Regions from separate parts of the Homo sapiens genome. Here region 1 is linked to region 2. Evidence: promoter capture Hi-C in human tissues and cell types (Jung and others, 2019). All regions are on one chromosome and are shown on one strand. Each heading gives the region's core, a stretch centred on a gene start or on the middle of the fragment in contact. The rest is flanking DNA. Distances are from core to core; before and after follow the strand shown. Region 1 overlaps LOC105370406 (a long non-coding RNA gene). Region 2 holds the start of IL25 (interleukin 25).

Region 1 (7,858 bases), core at 1,919-4,418, 170 kb before region 2:
CAGGGCTGCACCACCATGCCCAGCTAATTTTTAAAATATTTTTATAGAGATGGGGTCTTGCTATGTTGCCCAGGCTGATCTTGAACTCCTGGTCTCAAGCAATCCTCCTGCCTAGGCCTCCTAAAGTGCTGGGATTACAGGCATGAGCCACTGTTCTAGGGCCCAAAGGGCTTTTTTTGTGTCCATGCTCTTCCTTCTGCCTAGAGGCTTCTCTTCGCCCTTAGCCTAGTTCACTGCTATTCATCCTTCTGATTTAGCACAATTGTTACTTCCTCAAAGAAGCCCCCACCCACCCCATTCCTGGCCCTAGAGTGTGTTCTTTGTTTCAGAGTCCTCACTTGTGATAACTAGAGTGATTTTATGATTAATGTCTACCTCCCCATCTAGACTGCAAACTCCATGAGTGCAGGGACAATGGTGCTTTTTTTGCTCACTAATGTCTTCAGGGCCCAGTACAGTGCCTAGGACTAAGTAGGTACCCAATTTAAAATTGCTGAATGAATGTATATAGGACATGTATGTGGTAACACTTGGTGGACAGTTGGATATATGGTATCCCTAGCCCAGGAGAAAGATTTGGGCTAAAAAATCATATTTAAGTGTTATTAGTACATAAGTGGTCACTGATGTTATCATCCAGAAAGGGTGAGAAAAATATAACGAGAGGCCAGGCACTGTGGCTCACGCCTGTAAGCCCGGCACTTTGGGAGGCTGAGGCAGGTGGATTTCATGAGGCCATGAGTTTGAGACCAGCCTGGCCAACATGGTGAAACCCTGTCTCTACTAAAAATACAAAAATTAGCCATGTGTGGTGGTACATGCCTGTAGTCCCAGCTACTTGGGAGGTCGAGGCATGAGAATTGCTTGAACCCGGGAGGCGGAGGTTGCAGTGAGCTGAGATCATGCCACTGCACTCCAGCCTGGCAACAGAGCGAGACTCCATCTCAAAAATAATTTTCACTAATTTGCCTATATTAAAAGTAAATATTAAATAAGCAAATTAAAAATTATTTAAAAAAACAAATATAATTAAAAAATAATAAAAAATATTGTATAATAAAGAATTTCAAACATTCCCCAAAGGAGAGAGAATAATACAATGAACTCTCATGTATCAGAATCCTCACCCAGATTCTACAATTATCAAGATTTTGCTATGTTGTTTTATCTACCTATTTCCCCCTTCTATGTCTTGTCTTCTTTTTTTTTTTTTTGAGCAACATGGCTGTTTATTTCACCTGGGTGCAGGCGGGCTGAGTCCAAAAAGAGAGTCAGCGAAGGGAGATAGGGGTGGGGCCATTTCATAGGATTTGGGAAGGTAATGGAAAATTACAGTCAAAGGGGGTTGTTCTCTGGTGGGCAGGCGGGGATCTCACAAAGTACATTCTTAAGGGCGGGGGAGATTACAAAGTACATTGATCAGTTAGGGTGGGGCAGGAACAAATCACAATGGTGGAATGTCATCAGTTAAGGCTGTTTTTACTTCTTTTGTGGATCTTCAGTTACTTCAGGCCATCTGGATGTGTACGTGCAAGTCACAGGGGATGCGATGGCCTGGCCTGGGCTCAGAGGCCTGACATTCCTGCCTTCTTATATGTCTTGTCTTCTTTACTGAAATGTTTAAAAAATAACTACAGACATCATGCTATTTCATCCCCACATATCTCAATAAGCACCTCTGAAAAAAATTATGGAATTGTCTTACATAACTCAAGGCCATTATCACACCTAATGAAATTAACAATAATTCCTTGGTATCAACTAATATCCAGTTTATAATCAAATTTCTTCAAATATCAAAAAAGGTCCACATACTGGAGCCAAGCGTGGTGGCTCACGCCTGAAATCTGAGCACTTTGGGAGGCGGAGGAGGGTGGATCACCTGAGGTCAGGAGACCTGCCTAGCCAACATAGTGAAACCCCCGTCTCTACTAAAAATAAAAAAAATCAGCTGGGCGTGGTGGCGGGTACCTGTAATCCCAGCCACTAGGGAAGCTGAAGCGGGAGAATCACTTGAACCTGGGAAGCAGAGGTTGCAGTGAGCCGAGATCGCGCCATGGCACTCCAGCCTGAGAACAAGAAAACTCTGTCCAAAAAAAAAAAAAGGTCCACGTACTGTATGTAAACACTATACTCTAGCTGGTAAGTCTGTTTCTCATGGTATATGGGTTAATAGTTCTCAAACGGCTTTACATATGTACTGGGGCTGAACAAATAAGTAAATGTATAGTGGATTTTGGGAGGAAGGGTTTTCACTATCAGAAAGAGAAGTAACATATAAGCAAGGAGGGAAAAATAGAATGAGCCCTTGGGTAGTGGATTAGAGTTGGTTAGCTAGCTTGGTATATATATAGACAGAAATATGTGTATATACATGAGTCGGTATACACACAAATATTACCTAGTGCTATACCTCACGCTGTCCACTGAGAGGGCCTAGAGGCAATGACACCCCCATAGCAATGGGCACATCTTGTGTCCAGATTTTGGTTTCAAAATACTGTGAACTCTGAAAATTTGAGACAGGTCTCAGTTAATTGTTTATTTTGCCAAGGTTGGGGACATGTGTCCGTGACAGCCTCAGGAAGTCCTGAAGACCTGTGCCCAAGGTGGTTGGGGTACAGCTTAGTTTTATACATTTTAGGGAGGCATGAGACATCAATCAATATATGTAAGAAGTACATTGGTTCAGTCTGGAAAGGCAGGAAGACTTGAAGTGGGGAGGAGGCTTCCAGGTCACAGATAGGTGATACACAAATGGTTACATTCTTTTGAGATTCTGTTAGCCTTTCCAAAGGAGGCAATCAGATATGCATCTATCTCAGTGAGCACAGGGGTGACTTTGAATAGAATGGGAGGCAGCTTTGCCCTAAGCAGTTCCCAGCTTGACTATTCCCTTTAGCTTAGTGATTTGGGGGCCCCAAGCTTTAATTTCCTTTCATATTTCCCCCCTTTCTTTTCAAAAATCTTTTGGAGAAGGCATTTTACAAGAAAATGAATCTCTGGTCTCAGGTTTCATTTGATCTCTCATGGCAAGGATGGTTTATTCCTAGACAGGTAGGTCCCGAACGAAGATTTTTAGCAGGTTGTGAAGTCTCATGTCCTATGAAGGAAAAATAGTGGGGAGGAAGGGAGAAAAAACAACAACAAACAAAAGAACATTCTTGGAAAATCTATATAGGCCACATTTCTCTGAAGTCTATAGTCAGTAGGCAGGTATGTAAATTGGTTGCTGTTATTTTCTTCTGAAGTTTAAGTTGTTTAGTCTCAGTTAGCTGGGCTTTAAGAAAGCACAGCTTAGTTTTCAGTGACTCCTAATTAGGAAACATGGGAAAAAAAGAAGGGAAAAAAAAGAAAAAGTTGAAAACATTATTTTGAAGACTTGTAGCCAAGAAACAATTAGAATTCAGCCCAAACTGTAGAACATAATAAAAAATTAAAAAAAAAAAAATTAGGCAAGACTAGACTCTAACAACGAGTGTACTATCGTCTTGAAACATTTTTTTCTCTCTCTCTCTAGTTTCCCATTTTACTAAAGATAAATCATGGTAGGATTGGTTTGCTTATTATGCTTGGCCAAATTATTTGTATACAGTTCAGCAAAAATAATTATTTTTTACATAGGCTTTTAAATGGGCTTTGATGAAACTTTGTTCCATAGGAGGAATCTCAGATAAGATTTTAAAGCTGAATCCAGCCATGAATTTGTGCCATCAAATACCTACAAGTTGGGTGAATTTCCTCTCCCCCAACTTTTTTTTTTTGAGACAGATTCTTGCTCTGTCACCCAGGCTAGAGTGCAATGGCATGATCTTGGCCCACTGCAACCTCTGCCTCCTGGGATCAAGCAATTCTCATGCCTCAGCTTCCCAAGTAGATGGGATTACAGGTGCGTGCCACTGTGTCTGGCTAATTTTTGTAATTTCAGCAGAGATGGGGTTTCACCATGTTGGCCAGGCTGGTCTCGAACTCCTGGCCTCAAGTGATCCACCCACCTCGGCCTCCCAAAGTGCTGGGATTACAGGTGTGAGCCACTGTACTTGGTCTGAATTTCCTCTCCTCTTGAGGATCCAAGATAAATCTGGGGCTTCCGTGCCTGTCAGAAAGTGATATTCTTTACTTACCACAGGCCAGAAACCCTGTACACGGACTGTGTACACAAAATATGAGGCCAGTTTTTCCAAGGGCTTTATTGGCTTCTTAAGTCAAGTTTGATTCCTTATAGGAAAGTGCACCATTCCAGTCAAAGCCTTGGTAAAACTACCAGTTTCTTCAATTGTGTCCTGTTAAAAATGAAAACAGATTCTTATTGCACTTATGCAACTAACTGTATTGCCAAAAGTTAAGAAGCTCACAAATAGTTTTCAAATTCTGGAGAAAATCAATTACAGAGAAACAAATATGCTCCAAATTTTGTTCATGGGAGTATACTAAATTGTTGAAAGCTGTCAATAGCTCAAAAGAAAAGTTTTAAGACTCTGAAAAACAGAATAAAGGATCAGCAACATTTTAAGCAAAAAGTCAAAAAGATTAGTTCAGTCCATGCAGTTAATTCCTGTTCTGCTTGATATTCATGAACATTTTAGCTCTCCATGAGTCTTGAAAGTTTTTTCTCTATTCTGATGTCACAATCTCCAAAGCTATCAGAAATCTGCACTCAAGAGCACCTGTTATAGTTTAATAGCTGGTTATAAAACCATCTTCTAAAGAGAACCAAAACAAGGCAACAATTGTCTGTGGATGACAAAAAGTTTTAGGGCAGCCATAGTCAAAAACATAATTGACAAGGGAATTTGTTACCTCTGTGGCACACAGTAATTTTAACTTAACATAACAATTATTGTTATTGATAATGTACACTAAGTTATATTAGAATTATAAGTTTCTCATAATTTTGGAACACATACCAATAACATTTATACAAATACAGCTCAAAGAAACCAAATAACCATTTCATATTTGACAATGCTTCCTGTATAATTTTTATACCAAATAAGCCAAATTATATTATTTTTGGACTTTAGGGAATGTAATATCTTAAAGGAGTAATTAGGTTAGAACAAGACACAATTTATAATTTAATTTTGGAAAGTTTGTCAAATATAAAAGGTTTAAAACACTTGATATTACAAAATAGGATTTCAGGTCATTGTAAAGTCATCTGTTTAACCAAAGTGGTAATTCAAGGATTTCAAAAATAGTGAAAACCTTCATTTATTGAGAGAGGGGACTTAATTTTCTAAACCTGAAGCCCTAATAAAAACAGCATGGAGCCAATTCCACTTGCTTTTCCAAATTTTGTAAGCAATCTATAAAGTTTATTCTTGAGTATAAAATATAACTTCCATAAACCTTTTATAACCTTTATAAACTTTATTAAGGAGTTGGAGGCCGGGCACAGTAGCTCATGCCTGTAATCCCAGCACTTTGTGAGGCCGAGGTGGGTGGACTGCTTGAGGTCCGGAGTTCGAGACCAGCTTGACCAACATGGTGAAACCCTATCTCTACTAAAAATACAAAAATTAGCCAAGCGTGGTGGTGTGCACTTGTAATCCCAGCTATTCGGGAGTCTGAGGCAGGAGAACTGCTTGAACCCAAGAGGAGGAGCTTGCAGTGAGCCGAGATTGCGCAACTGCACTCTAGCCTGGGCAACAGAACAAGACCCTGTCTTAAAAAAAAAAAAAAAAAAGCAGTTGGTTAATGCTTCACAAAAAACTTGTTAATCTAATACAGGGGTCCATATACTGGTTTTTGCATCAGTGTGTTTTTGACACTAATGATTAATTTATAGAGAAACTAAACTTATTTATCTTTCCAAATCGGCCCTTACAATCTTTGATCTTATGTGCCCACCTCTTCCGTGATAGTCCCTGGGCCTTGAGGAGTTGAATAGCTTTAATTTCTTGCCCTGTGTCTCAGGAATGCATTTTATTTTGATTGGCATCTTCTACAGGGCCTAAAGATGAGGCTTTAATTGCTGTCAGTGTTTAGGCTGGGCGTGATGGCTCACGCCTGTAATCCCAGCACTTCGGGAGGCCGAGGCGGGTGGATCACGAGGTCAGGAGATCGAGACCACCCTGGCTTACACGGTGAAACCCTGTCTCTACTAAAAATACAAAAAATTAGCCGGGCATGGTGGTGGGCACCTGTAGTCCCAGCTACTCGAGAGGCTGAGGCAGGAGAATGGCGTGAACCTGGGAGGTGGAGGTTGCAGTGAGCCAAGATTGGTCACTGCACTCTAGCCTGGGCGACAGAGCGAGACCCTGTCTCAAAAAAAAAAAAAAAAAAAATTGCTGTGAGTGTTTAAAATTTAACAGGACTTGGTGTCCATTTTAGACCCAGGAGTTAAAGCCCTCTAACTCAATGTTACAAGGACTTTATTTTATTTCATTTTATTTTGTTTTTTAATTTTTCCATAGGTTTTTTGGGGAACAGGGAGTATTTGGTTACATAACTGAGTTCTTTAGTGGTGATTTGTGAGATTTTGGTGTACCCATCACCCAAGCAGTATACACTGCACCCTATTTGTAGTCTTTTATCTCTCATCCCCCCAACCCTCACCCCCAAGATCCCAAAGTCCCCAAAGTCCATTATATCATTCTTATGCCTGTGTATCTTTATAGCTTAGCTTCCACAGATCAGTGAGAACATATGATGTTTGGTTTTCCATTCCTGGGCTACTTCACTTACAATAATAGTCTCCAATCTCATCTACCACAATTTCTTTATCCACTTGTTGATTGATGGGCATTTGGGTTGGTTCCACGATTTTGCAATTGTGAATTGTGCTGCTATAAACATGTGCGTGCAAATATCTTTTTTGTATAATGACTTCTTTTCCTCTGGGTCTATACCCAGTAGTGGTATTGCTGGATCGAATGGTAGTTCTACTTTTAGTCCCCCTTTTTTTTTTTTTTGAGATGGAGCCTTGCTCTGTCACCCACGCTGGAGTGCAATGGCACGATCTTGGCTCACTGCAATCTCCACCTTCCGGGTTCAAGCAATTCTCATGCCTCAGCCTCTCAAGTAGCTGAGATTATAAGTGTGTGCCACCACACCTGGCTAATTTTGTATTTTTAGTAGAGATGGGGTTTCACCATGTTGGTCAGGCTGGTGTTGAACTCCTGACCTCATGTGATCCACCTGCCTTGGCCTCCCAAAGTGCTGGGATTACAGGCATGAGCCACCATGGTAGGCCTTACTTTAGTTATTTAAGGAATCTCCACACTGTTTTCCCTAGTGGCTGTACTAGTTTACATTACCACCAGTAGTGTAGAAGTGTTCTCTGATCACCGTATCCATGCCAACATCTACAGTTTTTTGATTTTTTGATTATAGCCATTCTTGCAGGAGTAAGGTGGTGTTGCATTGTGGTTTTGATTTGCATTTCCCTGATCACTAGTGATGCTGAGCATACGTTTGTTTGCCATTTGTATATCTTCTCTTGAGAATTGTCTATTCATGTCCTTAGCCCACTTTTTGATGGGATTGTTTGTTTTTTTCTTACTGATTTGTTTGAGTTCGTTGTAGATTCCGGATATTAGTCCTTTGTCAGATGGATAGATTGTGAAGATTTTCTCCCACTCTGTGGGTTGTCTGTTTACTCTGCTGACTGTTCCTTTTGCCGTGCAAAATAACTCTTTAGTTTAATTAAGTCCCAACTATTTATCTTTGTTTTTATTATATTTGCTTTTGGGTTCTTGGTCATGAAATCCTTGCCTAAGCCAATGTCTAGAAGCATTTTTCCAAAATTATCTTCTAGAGTTTTTATAGTTTCAGGTCTTAGATTTAAGTCCTTAATCCATCTTGAGTTGATTTTTGTATAAGGTGAGAGATGAGGATCTAGTTTCATTCTCCT
Region 2 (6,808 bases), core at 2,508-5,007:
TAGGACTCTGCATGTCCTGCCCCCTCTGCCTAAACTACTTCCCCCAGACCCTTTCTGTCATCAGGTGAAATCCTGCATCCTCAGAAAGGCCTTTCCTGGCTTTCCAACTTAAAGTTGCCCTGCCTTCCTCTCCCCCACCCCCAGTAACTCCCTATCTCATAATGCTGTTTCATTTTCTTCATAGCACTTATTATTATCAGAAATTATCTTGTTTCCTTGTTTATAATCTGTCTCCCCCTAAAACGTAAGCTTCATGAGGCAGGGACCTTGTCTGGCTTGTCCTCCCCTGCATTTCTAGCTGTTAGAATAGTGCTTGGAACACAGTAGGTGCACAGTAAATATTTGGTGAGTGGATAAGTGAACGAAGGCAGCCATGACTATAGGACAAAGCCGAGTAAGCTGAGGGGCCTCCTGGGGAAGGCTACAGCCCTGGACTAAAGACATGGGTTTGTTGGGTTCTTGGTTCTGCTAACTCTGATTCTCCATGTGTCTCCCAGGGTCTAGACTGGGTTCTCCTTGAAGGCTGCTCCTGAGCCTAGGCGTTTTTGTAGCTAAACCATTATCATCTACCAATCAGAAAGTGGTAGCACTGTTCTGGGGGCCTCCATCTGTGCCAGGTGTTCAACCTTTAGTTGCTGGATCATAGGGAAGTATGGTAAGGTGGTGTCCCAAGGCTGAAGGAAGCATCTACTTACCAGCAGGAGCAGAAGTATTTCAACATTTTGATGTTCGGTGCCTTAGCTTCATGTACAGTGAGTGCCGATGAGCTTCAGTAGACCCTGCTGAGTCCTGTGGATTCAGCACTATTTCAGGAGCTGAGGTCTGGAGCAGCTAAGCTGGTTGGCACCTTTGTGACCATCCAGGTCAATGTTCCCCCCAATCCCCGCCCACCCAAACCCACCCACTTCTACAATTGAAGAGGGAGGAGCAGAGAGAGGGCTCAAGATCCAGAGCTGGTCATTGGCAGGGCCAAGACTTCAAGGCAGCAGGTGGAGACTTGCATATCTTCCTGAGAAGGGGCGGGGAAGACATATTCTCACTTTCTGTAAGCCCCAAGAGCCTTTCCAAGCCAAGATTGGGAAGTGTATTCCACCACATCTTCCCTGCCCTTTCCTAGCAGGTGCTTCTCTCTTTCCTCAGGGCCACAGGGACAGGAATCCCAGGAAGCTCTCTTCAACTGCCAGGTCAGGCCTAGGCAGGTGAAGACGTGCTGGGAGGGGACCTTGATGTCATGTGCCATGCAGACTTTCCTTTGTTCCTGCCTCCAGCCTTCTCCCCATTGCCACCCCCCTATCCTCACACCCCCAAGGGTTCCCTGGAAGCTGAAGTGACTCAGGGATTCCAAAACTAGTCACCTCAGGAGGAAACCCCACTGGAAAATGTTTCTCATGACAGGGAGTCACCCTAAGGAGTCCCACAAAGCTGCTACTGAGATAAGGACAGAGGGTGAGCAAGTGGGGTGGGGTGGGGGCATGTGGCTCAGAGCACAGGTTCTCAGGTCAGTCCTGGTCATCATGGGGGTGGGAAAAGCCAACCCTTCCTGGAGGGTTTCTCCCTCTGTCCTAGAGGGACACCCCAAAGGACTCTTCTGAAGGGCAACGTTCCTGGTGACCTAGGCTGGGTCCTCCCTGCAGCGTCAGCAAGTGAAACAGGTAGTTGGGATCACTTCTGGCTCCTTTGAACACCCCCTCCTGGGCAAGGGTCAAGATAGGAGATCTGAGCCAACTCCATTTCTACTACCTTCTTAGCCCTGAGGTTCTGATTGGTGAGAGCGAGACCCATAGGTATCCAGCTCTTCTGAAACGGCACTGCCTCCTAAGATCCTGTTCTGGGATTGAGGTTTTCCCAGGAGCACGGGAAGCCACCTTGAGGCCATGTCTGCCAGACAAAAGGCTAGGAAAGGGAGCTAGTGCAGTGAATCCGAACAGCAGGGCTGGATACCTAAGTGGGCAGACACACCCTGTGGCCCTCAGCAGGTGCAGTTGAAACTTGTCCCAACCCAAGCCCAGGTGAGCAGGAAAGCATTCACTGTGGGGCTCCCCTTCCATTCACAGCCAACTAGGGGTAGGCACGGTGTGGCACTTCCATGCCAGGAGGTTACATGTGGAATTGGTCAGAGCTGGAATGGGAAACCAGCTCAGCCTCTTTCTTTGTGATCTTGGGTAAGTTACTAAATTTCCTTGGGCCTCAGTTTCCTCATCTGTAACATGGGGATAATAGTTTCCATGTCATGGTTTCATTGTCGGGATAAAATGAGATGATGCATGCCCAGGGCTTAGCACCATGCCTGGCACATGTAAGTGCACAGGAGCTGAGGCCAGCAGGATATGGAAGGGAGAGGACGTCTGCGAGTACTGGGGGCAGAGGGTGAGGCAGTGAGAGTGGGGCCATGATACTGGCCTCATCACTGTTCCTGAGTGCCCCTGCTTTCCCAGCCACCACCTGCTTCTTCTAAGTGCCCTCCATCCCACAGTTCCAGGTGCCCCAAGACTCATCAGAGCAGAGCAGTTTCTCCCAATTTTCCAGATTGCCCTTTGACTTCATCACTTCTCTCTTTTGGGGCTGCTTTGCCCTAACGCATTGGAAAGATTCCTCTCACTGCAGTTTAAGTTATTCCTGGTTCCCTTTGTTGATTTCCTAGTCCTTGGTTACTAGAGGAGTATTTTCTAAGGGAAAGCACATGCAAATCAAGCCACATCATTCTAGGGGCAATGTCTGTGTATGGGTATGTTGGGTGCGTATGGGGGATGAGGCAGGCCAATAGGCAAGCATGAAGAGAAGGACCTGGGGGGAAGGACACACTGGCCCACTCTCAGCACAGTGTCTCCCAAGCAGGCTGGACCCGGCTGACCTGTGTCTTTGGGGTCAAGCCCAACTGTAAGCCTTTCTGGGGCACACATACACCCTCCTGGCTAACAGTGGCCCATGTTTCTGGACCTGCTGAGGCTGAGTGGGCTCACTTCATGGCCTGAAAGCAGTAGCTGACCCTGTCATGGGCTTGGTCCCCAAGGCTCTGTGAATGAGAGCAGGTTGGTTCCTGGAACTGAGACCTCCTTCCTGTTGGGTCTTAGGTGAGGCTGTTTCAGTTTCCCTCCTCTTCCTTGCTTCACCTTCTCATTTGTGCAATGGGGACACTCACCCACAGCTTCTTCCATCAGACCTTGCCCATCCAGCCAACAAACTTAGGAAGTCAGGGTCTTCCAGCAGCCCTGTGAGGGTAGGCTTGTATCCCCGGTGGGGGGCAGTGACTGGCGAGGGCAAGGGGGAGTTAGGGAGTGGGTCATGGACAATGGGGGAGAAGTCATAGCTGATGGGGGTCATAGAATTTTGGGGTCATTGAAAATGTGGAAGAGGTCAGAGAACAAAGGGGATGGGAGTCAAAGGATGTCTAAGGGAAAGGAAATAATCACGAAGGTGGATGATCAGAGGGACACCTGGGAAGAGGGGAATGGTGAAACCAGACCCTGGATGGGGGGAGCAGGGATCATGGAAACGAGGCCTCTTGAAGGGAGGCCACAAGACATTTCCTAATTTTGGCTACCAAACCAACCAGGGAAATCCCGCTAATGCCAGTTCACAAGAATGCAGAACAGCAGACTGTTATTGCTTTGACCCCATGGCCAGAAAAATTCAAAGAGCAAAGTTTACCCAATCAGCTACCAGGCATATAATGATGGTCATCACAACTTCCATGAGTATTGCATTTTAAGCAGCCTTTGGAAATACTTTCAGAGTTTTTTTGGTTTTGTTTTTTAACCTCAAGTCACTCCCTAAAAAGACAGTGGAAATAAATTTGAATAAACAAAACAGGCTTGCTGAAAATAAAATCAGGACTCCTAACCTGCTCCAGTCAGCCTGCTTCCACGAGGCCTGTCAGTCAGTGCCCCACTTGTGACTGAGTGTGCAGTGCCCAGCATGTACCAGGTCAGTGCAGAGGGCTGCCTGAGGGCTGTGCTGAGAGGGAGAGGAGCAGAGATGCTGCTGAGGGTGGAGGGAGGCCAAGCTGCCAGGTTTGGGGCTGGGGGCCAAGTGGAGTGAGAAACTGGGATCCCAGGGGGAGGGTGCAGATGAGGGAGCGACCCAGATTAGGTGAGGACAGTTCTCTCATTAGCCTTTTCCTACAGGTGGTTGCATTCTTGGCAATGGTCATGGGAACCCACACCTACAGCCACTGGCCCAGCTGCTGCCCCAGCAAAGGGCAGGACACCTCTGAGGAGCTGCTGAGGTGGAGCACTGTGCCTGTGCCTCCCCTAGAGCCTGCTAGGCCCAACCGCCACCCAGAGTCCTGTAGGGCCAGTGAAGATGGACCCCTCAACAGCAGGGCCATCTCCCCCTGGAGATATGAGTGAGTCTGCTGCCCCTCCCGAATGCCTGCCCTGTGTGTGCTGGCCAGGGTATGCGTGAGGGACCAGGGCAATTCCAGCTTACTTTCCCATTTTGATCTCAGAGGGGCTGTAAAGGTTTGGGAGTTAGACAAGGTCTGTATTTGAGTCCTAGCTCTGACTCTCATTGGATGATCTTGAGTCAATTCAAGTTTTCAAAACTCAGGGTTTTTTTTTTTTTCACCTGCAAAATGATATAATGCCCCATAGGCTAATGTGCAGATCAAATGAAATATAATGTATGTAAAAGTCTGTATTTATGTTGGTTCTCTCCTTTTCTTTTAAAACATCCCTATAATGGCCCATGTTTTTTCTGGGTAAAATATTAGGGAATAATGGCATGATACAGGCATGAAGCATCCCAATACCAATTGATACTGCCCTGGCCATGAATGGGTTAGTTATAAGCATACTAAAGGAGTGAAACCCTTAACTTTTGGGGGCAGCTGGCTGGCTGGAGCTGTGGACTGGATATCTTTGATCATGATCATGGGTACTGTATTCTTTCACTCAGTGTGCCACATAAATATTATAGTTCTCTATTTGTGCCATGATATGAAAAATATTAGGAAGTGCTGAAATATGAATGATGAAGCAAAATATTAAAAACTAGGGTCTTAGGGATTCCAGACATGTGATTTCACTTCTTCCTTCTAGTTCTGTCTTAGCATTGGCTTTGGGGGTAGATGGAGAAGTTCAGTGGTGGGGAGGGGGTCAGATCTAACTGAGATTGGATCTAGTGTGGACACTACAGGTCATGACTCTTTGGAGTGGTCTCAGAAGCTGGCTGGGTCCTGGGCCAAATCAGATGGCATGGGAGCTTCTTAGGGGAGGCGGGTGCCAGAGGTTAACTCAGCTGTCTTCCAGACCCCTTGCTGGGAGTCTGTGAACCCGAGAACCACTCAGGTGGCTTTCCCCAAAGTGTGTTCTGTGCAATGCTCATCCCATGAGCTGCTTCTCAGAAAAAAGTGATGCCAGGTAAACTTGGGAAAGACTGCTGTATCTCCTACCCCTTGGAGATTCATACTGTCATTGTACATTAAAGTCTGCAAGAAGTCTGTAGAAAGTAAACCGTTAAACTGGTGTTTCCCAAATTCATTTAAGCACCCAACAGGTGCAGGTGATTTATTAGGGAACCCACTTTGGGAAGTGATGTGCTAGCTAATTCCATTTGCCAGGGCTTGTCTGTGTGGGGAATGGTCCCACAAGCTGGAGACTGTCGCCTGCCAGACTAATGGAGTCGCAGACCTGTGGGACATCTACTTTTCAGTGTTTTTCATCTTTCTTTCTTTCTTTCTTTTTTTTTTTTTGCCATGAAATCCTTTCAGAATAAGTAAATAAGTCTTCCCATGCACTCTCAAGTATGCTTATAATATAAGCTTGCACAGCGTCTGGAAGAATGTGCAGGAAATAGTTGAGGATAGCTTCTTCTGGGGAGTGGGGCTGGTAGGGAGAGACTATTAACTTTCACTCTTTATACTCTTTAATACTTGGATGTCAGAGTGGTTTTTACTTTTGCAATAATGCTATAATAATAATAGAAACACCACCTAAAGTCCGGCCCGGTGGCTCATGCCTGTAATCCCAGCACTTTGGGAGGTCGAGGTGGGTGGATTACCTAAGGTCAGGAGTTCAAGACCAGCCTGGCCAACCATGGCCAACATCATGAAACCCCATCTCTACTAAAAATATGAAAATTAGCTGGGTATGGTGGCGGGCATCAGGAGAATCGCTCGAACCCAGGAGGTAGAGGTTGCAGTTGAGCCAAGATCGTGCCACTGCACTCCAGCTTGGGTACTCCGTCTCAAAAAAACAAAAACAAAAAATCAAAAAACAAACAAAAACACCTAAAGTGTAATCATTACAATAAGAAACCTCATGCTGAGTCAGATAGAAGCAGTGCTGGTCAATGGAGGCTAAGGCAGGAGCCTGCTCACCCTCCCCTGCCTCCCTCACGGTCCCAGGACCAGTTGGAAAGCACTCTGTCACCTGCTACCCTCATTTACAGTGGGGAAAATTTAATAAAGGAGGGAGGTGACTTGTTCAAAGTTACACAGCAAGTGGGTTCAGAACTGAGACAAGAGGCCAAGGCCCCAGACGGACCATTTCCTTCTTCTGGCACTCCCATGCCACCCCACCCTCTCTGTTTCCGGCCCATCTTTCCAAGGCCTGACAAGTGCCGCCCCCACAGGTTGGACAGAGACTTGAACCGGCTCCCCCAGGACCTGTACCACGCCCGTTGCCTGTGCCCGCACTGCGTCAGCCTACAGACAGGCTCCCACATGGACCCCCGGGGCAACTCGGAGCTGCTCTACCACAACCAGACTGTCTTCTACCGGCGGCCATGCCATGGCGAGAAGGGCACCCACAAGGGCTACTGCCTGGAGCGCAGGCTGTACCGTGTTTCCTTAGCTTGTGTGTGTGTG

The links. The method cuts DNA at HindIII sites, captures the fragments that hold promoters and counts their contacts. A contact is called where the count stands out against the background at its distance.
Region 1: a fragment that was not itself captured here is called in contact with the fragment with the promoter of IL25 in region 2 in 1 of the 25 tissues and cell types used here (thymus).

The regions. Positions count from the first base shown.
Region 1 is chr14:23,196,580-23,204,437 of GRCh38, forward strand. LOC105370406 (a long non-coding RNA gene) reads right to left here. Exons shown (of 4, transcript XR_943606.3): 3 at 4,125-4,283. It also overlaps a transcript of RNF212B not described here. Among named protein-coding and RNA genes, the nearest start is that of SLC7A8, 17 kb to the left of the region's middle. RefSeq lists an enhancer at 1,446-2,230. The HindIII fragment of the contact is 5,166 bases long and covers 586-5,751 here.
Region 2 is chr14:23,369,052-23,375,859 of GRCh38, forward strand. It overlaps IL25 (interleukin 25), which reads left to right and starts at 3,758. Exons shown (of 3, transcript NM_172314.2): 1 at 3,758-3,924; 2 at 4,125-4,345; 3 at 6,574-6,808. The coding sequence starts at 3,916. The HindIII fragment of the contact is 4,168 bases long and covers 3,006-6,808 here.